3 separate regions of the Homo sapiens genome follow, and regions 1 and 3 are each linked to region 2. Evidence: promoter capture Hi-C in 16 types of primary human blood cells and fetal thymus (Javierre and others, 2016). All regions are on one chromosome and are shown on one strand. The core of a region is centred on a gene start or on the middle of the fragment in contact, and the rest is flanking DNA. Distances in the headings are between cores, read along the strand shown. Region 1 overlaps PPFIBP2 (PPFIB scaffold protein 2). Region 2 holds the start of SMPD1 (sphingomyelin phosphodiesterase 1). Region 3 overlaps PPFIBP2 (PPFIB scaffold protein 2).

Region 1 (4,800 bases), core at 140-2,639, 1.2 Mb before region 2:
CAGTTGAAGTGGATGAGAGTTAGAGAGGAGGTGGTCATCTGTGGTAAAAGCTCAGAAAAGGGAAGAAATACACTTGGGAGCTCATCAGGGTAGATATAAAAGATAAAACTAAAAAGGTAAGTTGAGGTTGGGCTGCTAATGGTCTCAAAGGCCAAGCAAGCCGAAGGGCCTGATTTTTCTTCCAGATTAAGGGTGAGTCCAGGGGGGCTCATCACTGGGGTCACAGGACGAAAGGGAATTTGTTTTTTTTGTTTTTTTTTTTAAGAAGATTTTAAAAATCTGGCAGTAGTGTTTAGGGTAGAGAATAGTGAAAATACTCTTATCACACTGCCAATGACATGTCTACACTTTGAGTTTTGCTTTTGTAAAATGCTCTTTAAAATTCTAAAAGTAGAAGAAAAATATCTGTTTTGCTATGAGTCATCCTGGGGGTTTCTAAAGTCTCCTTGCTTAAAGTTTCCCTAAGCAAACTTCCAACTGTCCACAGGAGCCAGCATACCCTGGGTCTTGGGACAAGAAGGGCCTTCTTACATTGCATCACATGCAAAATTAGTTCCTCCACACACATAACTTCTCCTGTAGCAGGCAGAGTTACAGTATCTGCCCCAGGGGCTGGGACAAGGCTCTGACAATCCCAGGCACATGTTGGCTGAAAGGATTTCTTGATTAAAAGCTTCATTTGGGATACAGGGAAAGAAGGACCAAGTGATGGTCAGTGCATTTCTTACATATTTCCTTTCAGTATCTCCCCAGTGGGGCTTAAAAAAAAAACCTAAGATGATGCAAACCTTTGCCAAAACGTCTGGTCATCTCAGCATGCTTTCTGGTGACTGTGATGCCCTAGGGGCTGGGCACAGACAGGATTTCTGCTGGGTTCTAAAGCAATAATTTTATACATATTTGGCAGAGAAAATGAATAAAGAGAACTAGACTGGGAGATAGAGAACAGGGTTCAAGACCAGGCTGCACCACTAATAGCTATGACACTAATACCATGAGGTTCTTAGCCCCTCTTGGGCTTTGTTAAATGAGGGGTTTGTACTATCCCATCCCTCCAAGCCCTCCAGCCCTATAATTGTGTTCAGTTGCCTCACTTTTCCCAACATAGCTTACCATATACCACATCACAGCTAGAGTAATTTTCTTAAAATACAAACTAGACCCCCCCCAATGTATCCCATGTCACTTCCCTGCTACAAGTCCCCCAGCACACAAACCAGGTTGCCCAAAAGCCTTACCGTGGCCTTCACTGTCCTGCGTGATCCCAGCCTCTGCCCGCCTCTGTCTGCCATCACTGTGCTCAGCCACATGGGCTCTCTCTCAATCTGGACAATCAGCAGACTCCATCTTGCTTTAGGACCTTTGTATATACATCATCCCCTATGCCCCATTTGCCTGGAATGTTCTTCACCCCATTCTTCACCTGACTCATTCTTACTGCTCTTTCAGTTTTCAGCGAAGTATAATTTCCTCAAACTCCCTGACCGCCCCAACCCCCTTCTCCATCAAAACAGCAGTCCCGTGTCTTCTGTTCTTCCTCCAGGCACACTTATTGTTTGTAATCTGAGGTTTATTTCCTGGGACTGTTTCACCTACATCTCCAGTATTAGGTAGAAGATCCACAAGAGGCTGGTTCTATTTTGCTCACTACTATACACCCAGTACCCAAACTCAGTACAGATTTGCTGAATGAGTGCTGCTGCACTCACACAAAAGCCAGCCAGCTCAGTGTCCGGGAGTCGGGGTCCGGGCATCTGCATGCCCCTTCCAAGCTGGACACTTCCTGGTTCTTCTGTCCTTCTGCAGTTACAATGTCAAATCTCTAACCTGTCAGCTGCTTTTGCCCTTCCTGCCTCTGAAAAACACTCAGCCTAAAATCCCTTCGTGTGAAAATAAATTCATACCTATCTTAGCCAATTTAAAGGCAGCCACAAAAGAGGAAACAGCCTGAATTCTAGGAGTATGATGCTACTCCAGCCCCCAACGTCCGTTCATTCCTTGCTCATACCACACACTCAGGTTTATCCTCTAAAGAAAGGGCATGAACAACTTGCAACATAAACCCTCAGCTTCAGAGCATTCAAAGAGAACTCCCTGAAAGCTTTCCTCCGGAAATGCAGAAGCTCATTCTGCTGACAGCAGATGTGTGCTCCACCGGATAACATCAGAGTGAGAACGAGTTAAACAACTTCCGAATCCAATGCATTTAAAAAGGCAGCAGCTTCCTCCCTGTGTCCTCAAACTGAAAAGCGGTGGGCACATTCTTCTGGTCACGGTGTTTGGAGCCTCTGACTGTTTAGGTGCCAAAGTTAAAATAACCAACTTTCCTCACTCCATTCTTGCCTTTCTGTACAGAGGCTCATTCACTAGAATGTCAGTGGAGAAACAAAGACAGCTGACTGTTTTCTCCCTGGTGTCTATAATTAGATTCTCATGAAGAACTTGGCCACAGCAGGGCTTTGCTGGACAATACCTCCCCCTACCACACACAGGCACACACACCCCAAAACACCCCAAAGCGTCTCCCCCTCACTTATCTCCACGGAGACCCAGACAAAGCAGCCAGTCACTTACCCTCTTCAGCCACGAGAAATGCTTGTAAACATCAATGTCCCCATCCATGCTGGGCACCCATGTCAGCAGTTAGATGCCTTGGTGGAAAAAGCCCTTTTCCTGGCTGGAGACCAGTTCTCTCCTCTTCCTTGCCTCTGCCCCCTCCCCCCTCAAGAACTCCAAGCTGTGTTCAAATTTCCCCACTTCCCTGGCCTGCGTCCTTCAGCCTCTCCCTAGACAGTTTCAGACACACAGCGACACAGAGCAGACCGTGCTGCTTCAGTGTCCTCCCCGACCACCCCAACAAACACACACACACACACACACACACACACACACGCACATACATGCACGCACACGCACCAGGACTGGGATTCAGAGCCCTGCGGAGAAATCAAATGTCACACAAAGGTAGAGAAAAAAGAAAGAAGACTTGGACAGAAGTTGTAAACATGACACACACGCACACACACACGGGACCATTCTCAGTGATAATACCGGAGCCTGCCAGAGGGAAACAGTCCTGAAGAAAATTCCTTGTCTGGCTTCCCCCTTCTGGAGTGGCTGGAACTCATTACTGAGAGCCCCGATTTCCTGTCTCTGCTTCACTCTGCATTTACCCAGGGCTCCCAGCTGCTCTCAGTTTATTTGGGACTGGGGAGAAGACTAAAAATAAGTGCTGCTCTTGGAGGAGCTCACTGGTTCCCACACACAGCCTGACCCCCGCCCTGAAGCCCACGCCCACCCATTTTCCAGGCGAGTGACGGGCTGTGCCCTGAGGAAAGCCTGTTGTTTCCAAAAAAAAGCAGCTCCAGTCTGGGTTCTTGGTCCTGCTGTGCGACGGGCCCAGCACAGAGCGTTTGCTGTCCTTGGCACTGGTGGTACCATCCATTAGAGACCAACTGCCGCAAACTCAGGGGAGTCTGGCCCTGGACTGTTGGCCACCAGCCAGGGCACCCTGGGGGCCACATTCTGAACAGGGGCCAGGGCTGGAGGGTCCTGCCTCTCTGGCTGTCCCCCACTCTGGGCTACCTGCTTTACAAACCAAGGAGGTGGAAAGGTTGAGGCTGCTTCACGTGCATTTCCATGAGACTCAGGGAGCAGTGCTGGGTAGACAGGGGCCTTGGAAAGGCTGGCGGAGACCTGGAGCTGCAGCTGTTTTCCTCCTTTCAGGGCAGGTCACATGCAGGCTCTCCAGGTGGCCCCTCCAGCACTCCCTAGATGCCACCCCCCACCTCCTCCTATTCCCATCTCCTTTGAGAGCTCCCCACTAAAAACAGCTTTTCTCCCTTCCCCAGCCCTTAATGTGTGGCCTTTGGCTATGGCTGATTATCAAAGTGACCTTTGATGTGGGTGCGGTGGGAACTGTGGTTACACGGTGGGAACTGTGGTTACACGCAAGGCCCCGAGCTCTGCTGTGGCAAAGGACTTGCAGATGCACAGCTTGTGACTGCCTGGGCCTTCCCAGTTCCCTTGGGGGTCACCTCCGGGGTTTCCTGGAACTCCCAGTCTGAAGAGCAGTCCTTCATGCCCCTCATGCCGCATGCCCCTCAGCATGGCTTCAATGTCCACCAGGGCCAGAAGCAGGGCCCAAAAGGGGAGAAACAATGCCTGGCAGCACAGTCCCCGGCAGGCTGGGCCAGCCCACAGAGATCACAGAGGCGGCAAGGAGGAGAGCTCTAGCCAGCAGCTGGCATAAGGGGAGGAGTAAATTCCTGGAGACACACCCAGACAGAGGCCAGAAAGGAAAAGCAGGCTTTGCTGCCCATGCGCTGAGCTCTAGCCCCTTGCTCCTCACCTCTGGCCCTGCTCCACAGCACAGTGTGACCCACCCAGCCCAGGTTCCCTGCCCGTGCTATGGCAGGATGTTGCCAAGGAAGAACATCTCTAAAGGTACAGGGGTCAGTAGGTTGGTTTTTCTCTGTCTAAAAGCCTGAACAAGTCAAATGAAGAAATTCATCCAGTCAATACACATTTTCCCCGCATCCAAGGCAAATGAAAAACTTCATGCCCTGGGTTAAGAATTATCATATGGTATGCAATAAAGGTATATCTGGGACTCCAAGGAAGAGGAGGTAGACAAGCTGATTTGGGAGCTGGACAGGGAGAGGTGGCGCAAGGTTCCAGCCTCTACAGGATGGTGGAAAATTCTCCCCTCTCCTGGGAGGAGTGCAGTGCTCTTCCTTAGGTTCTGGTACAAGAGAGGAGAAAAGAGAAAAGAGAAAGGTGGCCAATGTGGCTGCTCTC
Region 2 (4,284 bases), core at 1-2,500:
CCGTGCCCTCCAGGTAGTCATGATCCCAGTGCAGGTCAGTGAGGAAGAGGATGCGGCTGACAGGGGCACCTGGGGCTGGGGGGCTAGGGGGTTTGGGGGGCGGCTTCGGCACAGTAGGCAAAGAGATGTTCCAAGATGAGAAAATGTCCCAGTGCCCACAGGTGGAGCCCAGGAGCAGGCCACAGGCCTCAGATGGGCTCAGCACTGAGCGTCTCCACACCTCCACCATGTCATCCTCAAAGAGGTGGACAATGGATTGGCACACGGCAGGTGGTGCTATCTTCAGCAGATTGCACAGCTTGATGGCCACGGAGCCCACGCGAGCCACATTGGGTTCCTTCTGCAGTGGGAGGAGCGCATGGTGAGAAATCAGAGGCAGAGCAGAGGAACCAGGCCAACCCCTGGCCACCACCCCTTGGGCCTCCATTTCCAAACTGGGGCTGGGCAGGACTCAGTGCACCAAGCTCAGTGCACACCTTTGCCTTCCAGATATTGCCCTGTAACTCAGGCAGCACCAGGCCATCGCTTCTTCTTTAGCTCAGCGGCCTGTGGCATGAGGCCTTTGCTTGGCAAGCTGACTTCCTCAGGCACTGTCTGCATTATTTTCTTACTTCACAAAGGTCACAATGGGGTGATGGTGGCATGTAGCCATGGGTGTCCCCAAAGGGGAGCAAACTCAGTGATGGATTGTAGATGCCACCCTCTCCATCAGGGATGCATTCTGAGCCCAGCGCACCAGCATCAGCCCCAGCCCCCAGCCCCAGCACTCCTTTCGGCCTCCTCCACTGCAGCCCCTTCAGTGCTCACCTTCAGCCCGAGGTTGATGGCGGTGAATAGACCTTTGCAGATTGGGCAGGTGAGGTTCCCCCACCCAAAGACATCTCGGAGCCGGGGCACTATGCGATGTAACCTGGCAGGATGGCCTTGGGGAGAAAGAGGGTGAGCCTCTGCCGGAGCCCAGAGAACCCGAGAGTCAGACAGAGCCAGCGCCAGCGCCAGCGCCAGCGCCAGCGCCAGCACCAGGCCCATCCAAAGGAGTCCGGGGGCTCCGGCGGTCCCGTCTTGTCCCTGCTCCCGGCCGGACCTGGGGCAGCTCTGGCGGAGTGACGCTCCGTAGCGGGGCATTGTCGCGCTTCCTACACGGGGCTGGTTCGTCTGTCCCGTCCCCCCCGGCCTGGACCCTAGCCAGCCCTCAGGGCCCCGGGCGGCGCCGGGGACACCCGATTACCCTTCTCTGTAGTCGGCTGACTGCTCCGCGGCCGGCCGCAAAGCAGCTCCGCCCCTTCCTCTTCCTCTGATCTCTGACAGCTGATCTCTCGGTGGCGGGCGGCTGTCAACGCTGCGGAGGCGGAGGGGGCGGGGCGCTCCCGGGACCGCCCCGATTCCGCCCCCTCTCCCTGCCCCCGCCCTGCCCCGGGCGCACGGGCTGCGGGGGTGGGGACTCTCCCTGAGGTCACCAGGGGCTCCGCCTTGAGGTCACAGCCGCGGGAGGCCGTGCTCGTGCTTTGGAGCTCCATGTGATGTGGTCGGTGGAAGACGTCTCCTTTGTCAGAATCCGCGCTCAGATTCCCGGAATAGCTGCCAGACCGACCCCAGCGTTTAGCCCGGGAAGGGGAGGTAGGAGAGAGCAGGGCGGGCAGGATCCTCCCACTGGGTGTGTTGCCTCTGACAGGAAGGCGCCTTCCCTCGATTCCCCATGCTCTGCCACTGGCACCAGCCCTCTTGAGTCACCCTGAGAATCACTCACCTGTGATTCAGATGAGGAAACAAACCTTAGAGATGGTGAAGAGACTAGGAAGCCGTAAAGACCATATAGCCGTGGGGGCCAATAACATGGGCGGGAACCCAATTGGGTCTCCCACCTCCGTGTATCCACGACAGTAAAAGCGAGCATTTATGGAGTTGTTTATGATGTGCCAAGCACCAACCCAGGCACTTTATAATTAATAATCTTCAATTCTCACAACAACCCTAAGAAGTACCTATTATATTGGGGCTCAGAAATCCATACCCAAAATATGGTGGTTTGACTTACTAAGTTAAGCCTTAAGGTGTGTCTGGCCTTCCTACTCCCGCGCCCTCTCTCCCAAAGCCGTTACCTAGCGTCCAGACCCATCAAAAGGAACAACGGTTTTTTTCTTCCCCTCCCTACAAAACCAAGAATATAATCACACCTGAACAGACCCCTTCACATGATAATGTGCTAGTTAATCTGTTCCCTGATCCATTCCTTCTCCCTCAGCAGAATTCCTCTTCCCCTCACTCCCACAACCCCCTTTGCCTGAATGACACCTAAGCTTCTGAACTCGTCTGGGAAGTGGGTAGTCACTCTGTGGTTCCCCGTGGACACATTAATACAATTTCTATGCCTTTTCTTCAATTAATCTGTTTTTTGTGGGTTGATTTTTCAGCAGAATTTCAGAGGGCGAAGGGAAAGTTTCCCTTGGTCCCTGCAAATACTATTATTACCCTCCTTTACAGATAGGATGAGGCACAAAGAAGTTAAGTGGCAGAATAGCAATTAAACCCTAAGCTGTTTGACGAGTGCTTCTGAGGAATCCTCAGAGCTATCAAGTCCTGTCAGTTCTTTCCTTTGATAATTTTTTACAAGTGTTTTTTCCCCCCAGTTCTGGGGACATCATCTCAGATAGAGTACTCACAGTAATAATTAGCATGCATTTTTAAGATTATGTACTATGAAAAACAAAACAAAACAAAACCTTTTTATCTAAGGAAGATGAGCCCCTTTAAATTATCAGGCCCAGACAGGCATTTAAAATGTAGCAACAGTCACTCTCACTCTTCTTTGAGCTAAGTAATTATCTCTTGAAACCACTTGCTATGCCAAGTAGCCATTAAATGCCATACACCTTATAGTTCAACAATGTATAGCCAAGCGCTAAACAATGTATAACCAGTGTTATTTCTGTAAACAATGAGAATTCCTGATGAACAACTTTTGTATTCATTTCCTCTCCTAATTCATCTTTTTTTCTTTGAAAATATGAGCCTCTCTTTTGTTGTCCAGAGTGCTCCCCCAAGACAACTTGCAAGTGTGTCCTGGGTCGCAGTCCTCAACCTTGGCCCTTGGCCCGAATAACCCTCTGTAGGTACTTTTCTGAGGACTCTGCCTTACGTTAATCCTCACAACAAATTTGGAAGTCGGTATTATAATTATCCCCATTTTACGGAGAAGGAAAGTAGGATTAAGTAAGTGGCTCAAGATCCCACAGCTAGCTAGTAAGTGCTGGAACTGGAATTTGGATGTGTCAAGCAAAACATGTCTGAGACAGGTCTCAATCAATTTAGAGGTTTATTTTGCCAAGGTTAAGGACATGGCTGGAAGAAATAAACACGGAATCGCAGAAACAGTCTGTGGTCTGTGGCTTTCTCCAAAGATGATTTTGAGGGCTTCAATATTTAAAGGGGAAAAGTGAGCTGGAGGGAAAGAAGAAGGGTATGGTAATCCACATGTCGCAAGAGAAAAGGAGCAGGTAGGGAGATACTCAATTATGTGTTCGTCTGGCACTTTACATAAGATAAAGTAAATATGCCTGTGGAGATATTTAACCTTTTGTGTTTTTTTTGTTTTTTTTTTTTTGAGACAGAGTTTTCGCTGTTGTTGACCAGGCTGGAGTGCAATGGCGCAATCTCGGCTCACCACAACCTCTGCCTCCCGGGTTCAAGTGATTCTCCTGCCTCAGCCTACTGAGTAGCTGGGATTACAGGCATGTGCCACCACACCCGGCTAATTTTGTAAATATTTAACCTTTTGTCTGTAGCTATCTGCTTAGGAACAAAAGGAAAGGCAGCTTCTTGCATGACTCAGTTTTCAGTTTATTTTTTTTCCTTTTGGCATAGTCAACTGGAGTCCTGAGTTTTTATTTTCCTTTCACAAATGCAACATTCTGGCTCTATTCTTTGCTGTGTGGGGACCCATTCAGAACACCAGAGTTGGTATAACAATTATTTTAAGCCGAAGACATTTCAGATTCAATAGATGCAGAAATAAACCTTCTGGGAGCTTTCTTCATCTGATTAAAACTTCTGGGAAATGTCAACCTAAAGGGAAAAATCTAAGGCAAACTTGATATAAGTAGAGAGTTTATTTGGGCCAAGTTTGAAGACTGTGAAGCGAAGATTCAAGTTGCCCTGAGTATATGCTCCCAATTAGCAGAAGTCACAAGTGGGTTTTTAAAGGAGAAGAAGAGGCAGTTCCTAATGAGGACTAAGCTCTGATTTTTTCTTATCTTGCTCAAATTCCTATCGAAAGGGTCTGGGGAG
Region 3 (4,288 bases), core at 696-3,195, 1.1 Mb before region 2:
TGGCATCAAGAGAGCCCATAATAACTCTAGAGATGGCCTTGAGAGAAGATGGCTGAGCCGTACTGGTATCTGAGAAAGGCCTCCCGGTTATTCTCAGTGGACACCACACTCTTTGGGGACACCGATAGCCAGACAGGCAATCACTCCAGGAATTACTGAGGGAAGGTTTCCATATACGATGTGTAACAGTGATGTAATGAGATGCATTTTTCATGGAGCCGATAAGATCTGTCTCATTAACTCCATTTCCCATTCAGCTGTCACTTGGCTTATCTAAAATTCTCTTTTAAATATAAATCATAACATTTGAGGACTGGATTTGTGACCCTGGAAGAGCCTTTAACGGGTTCTCACAGTGTACCTTATTAAGTGGTAGGACAAGGAGGTAGAGCTTCCTCCCACATTGTCTCCTGTTAACATGAAATCCTGCGTCACTGCAGCCCAGATGCTCCCCCAACTTCTTCCTCTGAATATTTCCTCTGTCTTCTCAGTGGTTACTATTGCCTCGCAGGTGGTCTCAACTTTTCTCTCCAGGCTGAGGAAAAGCCTCCCATTAGGAAGTCTGAAGGACCCTGGGTCCACCCTGAGGACAGAAGCAAGGCGTGGCCACCAGGGCTAGATCTGAGTTCTGAGCTCCAGGAGGAAGGCCAAACTGGATGGAGAACTGGGCCCTGGGCAGACCTGCTCAGCAACAAAGACTGGCTGACTGTACTAGATATACGCATAAGAACCCCAACTTGAGCAGGCAGTCCTCACCAACACCCACCTGCTCAGAGCTTGAACATGTGATCTGTGAAAACAATGTTGTCCTTTCATGCAGGTATCCCAGCACCCACTCTACACCCCTGCATGGGCAGGCTCTCAGCAAATGCTTACTGAACTGTATCGGTCCCTCCTCTCAACCCCTACAGCCCCACCTGGGTTACTGCCCACATTTCTCTGACTCTTACCCTCATCCCACGCTTCCAAACCTCTTGGAGTACCACTCTTGCTAAACATCTCTTAGGGCTGACACCTTGGTATCCTAAACAGGTAAGGTTGGTTGTAGGTAACTTGTTACTAATGATAGAAGCTTTTTGTATAAATTAGAGAAGATTCAGGCTTATCTTGCCCCATTCTAATATACTTTATTGAAGGGATGAGAAAATACTGGAATTCAGCCAGCAATTCAGAAATTGCCTATAGTGGTCTGGGAGTAACAGTTTCTATTGTAATGTGAAAACTGCATTTAGGAAGTTAGAGATTAACTTCCTAAATATATATGTGTATGCATGCATATATATGTATTAGAACTCAGATATGCTTTGTGACTATCTGGCCATGTCCACTAAGTGCCTCTCAAAGGTTAATGTGGTTTGCCATGTGCCATCTGACCATCTTCCTGCCTAAATACGGTAAGAACAGGTCTTCACTGTAAATTTAAGACTGCATAATCTGGACTCTAAACATAGTGGCAAGATTAAGTGGAAAGAACAGAGTTTGGGGTCAGGCAGCCTGGACATCAATTTTATTTTGGCCACTCACCACCTAGGGAAACTTGAGATGATCAGGTATCTTCTTGAAGCCCATTTCCTCCTCAGTTAAAGCCCTGAAAGGCTGCTTTGAAATTTAAGTGAGCACAGACTCTGTGCTCAATGCCTGATGCATGATGGGTACTTCATAGACGGTAATTTCCAATCCCTGGTGCCCTATTTAACTTCGTTTACTCTTCAGTTCCAGCCAAATCATGCCGCCAGTTGTTTTCCACAGGTGCCCCTTAATTGGCATTACTCATGCCTTCCTTTGTGCACTGCTGTTCCCTCTGCCAGCAATTCCCTTCAGCCCCATAGAAACGGGCAACTCTGGTCCCTGTCTTTCCTTCAGGACACACCTCAAATGCCACCTCCTCAGCAAGCCAGGCCCCCCCAACATCTTTCTCTGAATATTAACTGTATTTTCTCAGCAGTTACTACTATCTGTTTGAGTAAGGGGGTACATTTCTTAAGTTCCATTCAGTCAGGGGACATGTCTGTTCATCTTGTGGTCCCATCATCACCATTCTCAGCATAGACAATGGTTCAAAAATTATTTAGAGGCTGAAATAATAAATACTGTCACAATCCTACTGATTCCACAGTACCTGAGAAGTATGCTCTACCTCTGCTGCTAAAGGGTAGGTTTCCCCAGATCCAATGGGCCAGTTCTGACCTTGGGGTTCCATGGCCACTCTTCCTACCATTCTTGCCAGACTCCTTCCCTGCCACCCAGACCAAGATATCACACTGCTCAGACATCCACGTTGCCTAACCACAGCAACTCTCTCCTCCCATACACCACACCCCACCCAAAACCTCAGCCTACTTGAATGAGGCCCTGGTACCCACATCCCTTCCTTGCCTCCCCTCCCAGGGATGGAACCTTGCTCACTCTATGGCCCAAGGTGCAGACAGTCAGACTTCCTAGGGTATGGTAGGTATAGAAGGGAGTGATCCAGGAGGACATTCTTGTGACCAGTGTCCTCCTGGATCACTCCCTTCTATACCTGCTATGCCCTCTAGGATGCTGTGAACCCAGCTGTCTCACACCACATACCCTGGTTCTCCAGGTCTCAGGATGGTGTGTTCTCAAAATCTTCAAGGGGTGGCAAGTGAGTCTAAAACAGCTTTCAGATGGTTGGGCCAAGGTAGGCATCAGCAAAGAATATACACAGTCCAGTCACTTCTTGGGATCATAGTCTCATTTTCAGCCCACAAAGACATTTGCTCAGAGCCTTTCCCCTCTCCCAGCCCTTGTCACTAAGTGGGATGTTCAGCCTGCGACTTGGGATAGAGAAGCTTCCGCATAGTCACGCCGGGCTAATTTTTTGTATTTTAGTAGAGATGGGGTTTCACCGTGTTAGCCAGGATGGTCTCAATCTCCTGACCTCGTGATCTGCCCACCCTCGGCCTCCCAAAGTGCTGGGATTACAGGCGTGAGCCACCGCACCCGGCCGCTTCTGCACAGCTTTAAGGCTGCTCTTTCCCCAGCCTCCCACCCTCACTCCAGCCTACATCTGCTGCAAGTCATTTCTGCTCAGAAGCCACCAATTATTCCCCACTACCGACAGGGTAAAGTCCAGCTTCTTAGTTTGGCATTCAAGTTCCTTTTCCCTTAGAGTCCCAACTTCTTTCTTTGACTTTTAATAATGGGAAGAGTCTAGCTAAGCTGGTTTCCTTATTATTTCTCGATCCCACTTCACTCACTTGGGCTTCTATGCCTTTTACTCACTTGACTGACCAGGGATCCCCAGAGAGCCTTTTCTTCCCAGCTCCCCAGGATCCCACCCCAGTTGGTTGATCCACAAAGCCTTCCCTTTGCCAAAATCTTACAGCACTTTAGTTAGATCTATAACCTTTCAGTATACCTTCCTCCCTGTTATTTCATAAACTCCTCTCTAGTCAATACTGCTTGAACAATACCCTTTGCAGGTAGACTCCAATATCTGCTCTAAAACAGCGGTTTGGCCCTAGAGACAAGCCTGAGTTCTTTAAAATTTCTTACATTATGTCAAAGTAGAATCTGCTCCGTCTTTAGTTTTCTTTGACATCACTACCATAGGCCTTCATCTCTGCCCTCTGAGCAACAAAGAACATGCTGCCCACCTTGCCCACCTGAAAATAGCAGTCATTCCCCTATATCTTCCTGACTGTCCTTGGGCCCCTCCAAAGCTTGTAAGACAGGGATACCGGCTTTGCACACTCCAGGTGTGGCCAGTCTCAGCCAATGCAGGGAAAAGATCCTCTACCAAGGTCTAAACCCAGGACTTCAATTAATGTAGCCAGGCTAAGCCAATGTATTGGGCTTTTCCACATAGATGGGTAGGACACTCACACAATTGATTTTCAGGGCCTAAGGGCAGGACTTTGCACTTAACCCTGCCACATCTCATCCAGCTGGTTTGGACTCTGCGCTGTTTGCTGCTTTTGTCCTGTACGTGGGTGACCAGCCACCTGATTCCGGGCTGTTCTCTACCTTGTCATGGACTTCTGCCTCCTGGAATTTCTGCTCACCGCCACCATGGTTGCCCTTTCTGTGTCATACCTGGAAGCCCAGAGCATGCAACTTCCCACCTGAAATTTCAGGATAAGCCCTCTGGATGATCTAAATATCTCTTGATAAATGATTTCTCTCAAGCTTCCTGAGACGGGAATAAAAGGATTTACTGACTACCTATGATGTGCCAAGCACTGGAGTCAACATTTCATCTCATTTAATTTTCACAACCACCAAATGAATTGGCCTATTATTGTTCCCATTAAACAGATGAGGA

What was found. Contacts are between HindIII fragments. The CHiCAGO score rates a contact against its expected background, and 5 or more counts as called.
Region 1: a fragment that was not itself captured here is called in contact with the fragment with the promoter of SMPD1 in region 2 in 1 of 17 cell types (M0 macrophages); the score reaches 5.9 in M0 macrophages.
Region 3: a contact is called between a fragment that was not itself captured here and the fragment with the promoter of SMPD1 in region 2, in 1 of 17 cell types (total CD4 T cells). The highest score is 5.1, in total CD4 T cells.

What each region holds. Positions count from the first base shown.
Region 1 is chr11:7,575,413-7,580,212 of GRCh38, reverse strand. The region is part of intron 3 of PPFIBP2 (PPFIB scaffold protein 2); the gene reads right to left. All of the region lies in intron 3 of LOC105376535 (a long non-coding RNA gene), which reads left to right. Among named protein-coding and RNA genes, the nearest start is that of PPFIBP2, 64 kb to the right of the region's middle. RefSeq lists enhancers at 1,891-1,970, 4,694-4,800 and a silencer at 2,041-2,275. The HindIII fragment of the contact is 1,428 bases long and covers 676-2,103 here.
Region 2 is chr11:6,387,440-6,391,723 of GRCh38, reverse strand. It overlaps SMPD1 (sphingomyelin phosphodiesterase 1), which reads right to left and starts at 1,250. Exons shown (of 6, transcript NM_000543.5): 1 at 808-1,250; 2 at 1-340. The coding sequence starts at 1,125. It overlaps LOC124902624 (a long non-coding RNA gene), which reads left to right and starts at 1,368. Exons shown (of 2, transcript XR_007062573.1): 1 at 1,368-1,617. RefSeq lists a silencer at 1,034-1,533. The HindIII fragment of the contact is 7,977 bases long and covers 1-2,299 here.
Region 3 is chr11:7,525,272-7,529,559 of GRCh38, reverse strand. All of the region lies in intron 1 of PPFIBP2 (PPFIB scaffold protein 2), which reads right to left. The region is part of intron 1 of LOC124902806 (leucine-rich repeat extensin-like protein 5); the gene reads left to right. Among named protein-coding and RNA genes, the nearest start is that of PPFIBP2, 13 kb to the right of the region's middle. RefSeq lists an enhancer at 620-669. The HindIII fragment of the contact is 1,741 bases long and covers 1,075-2,815 here.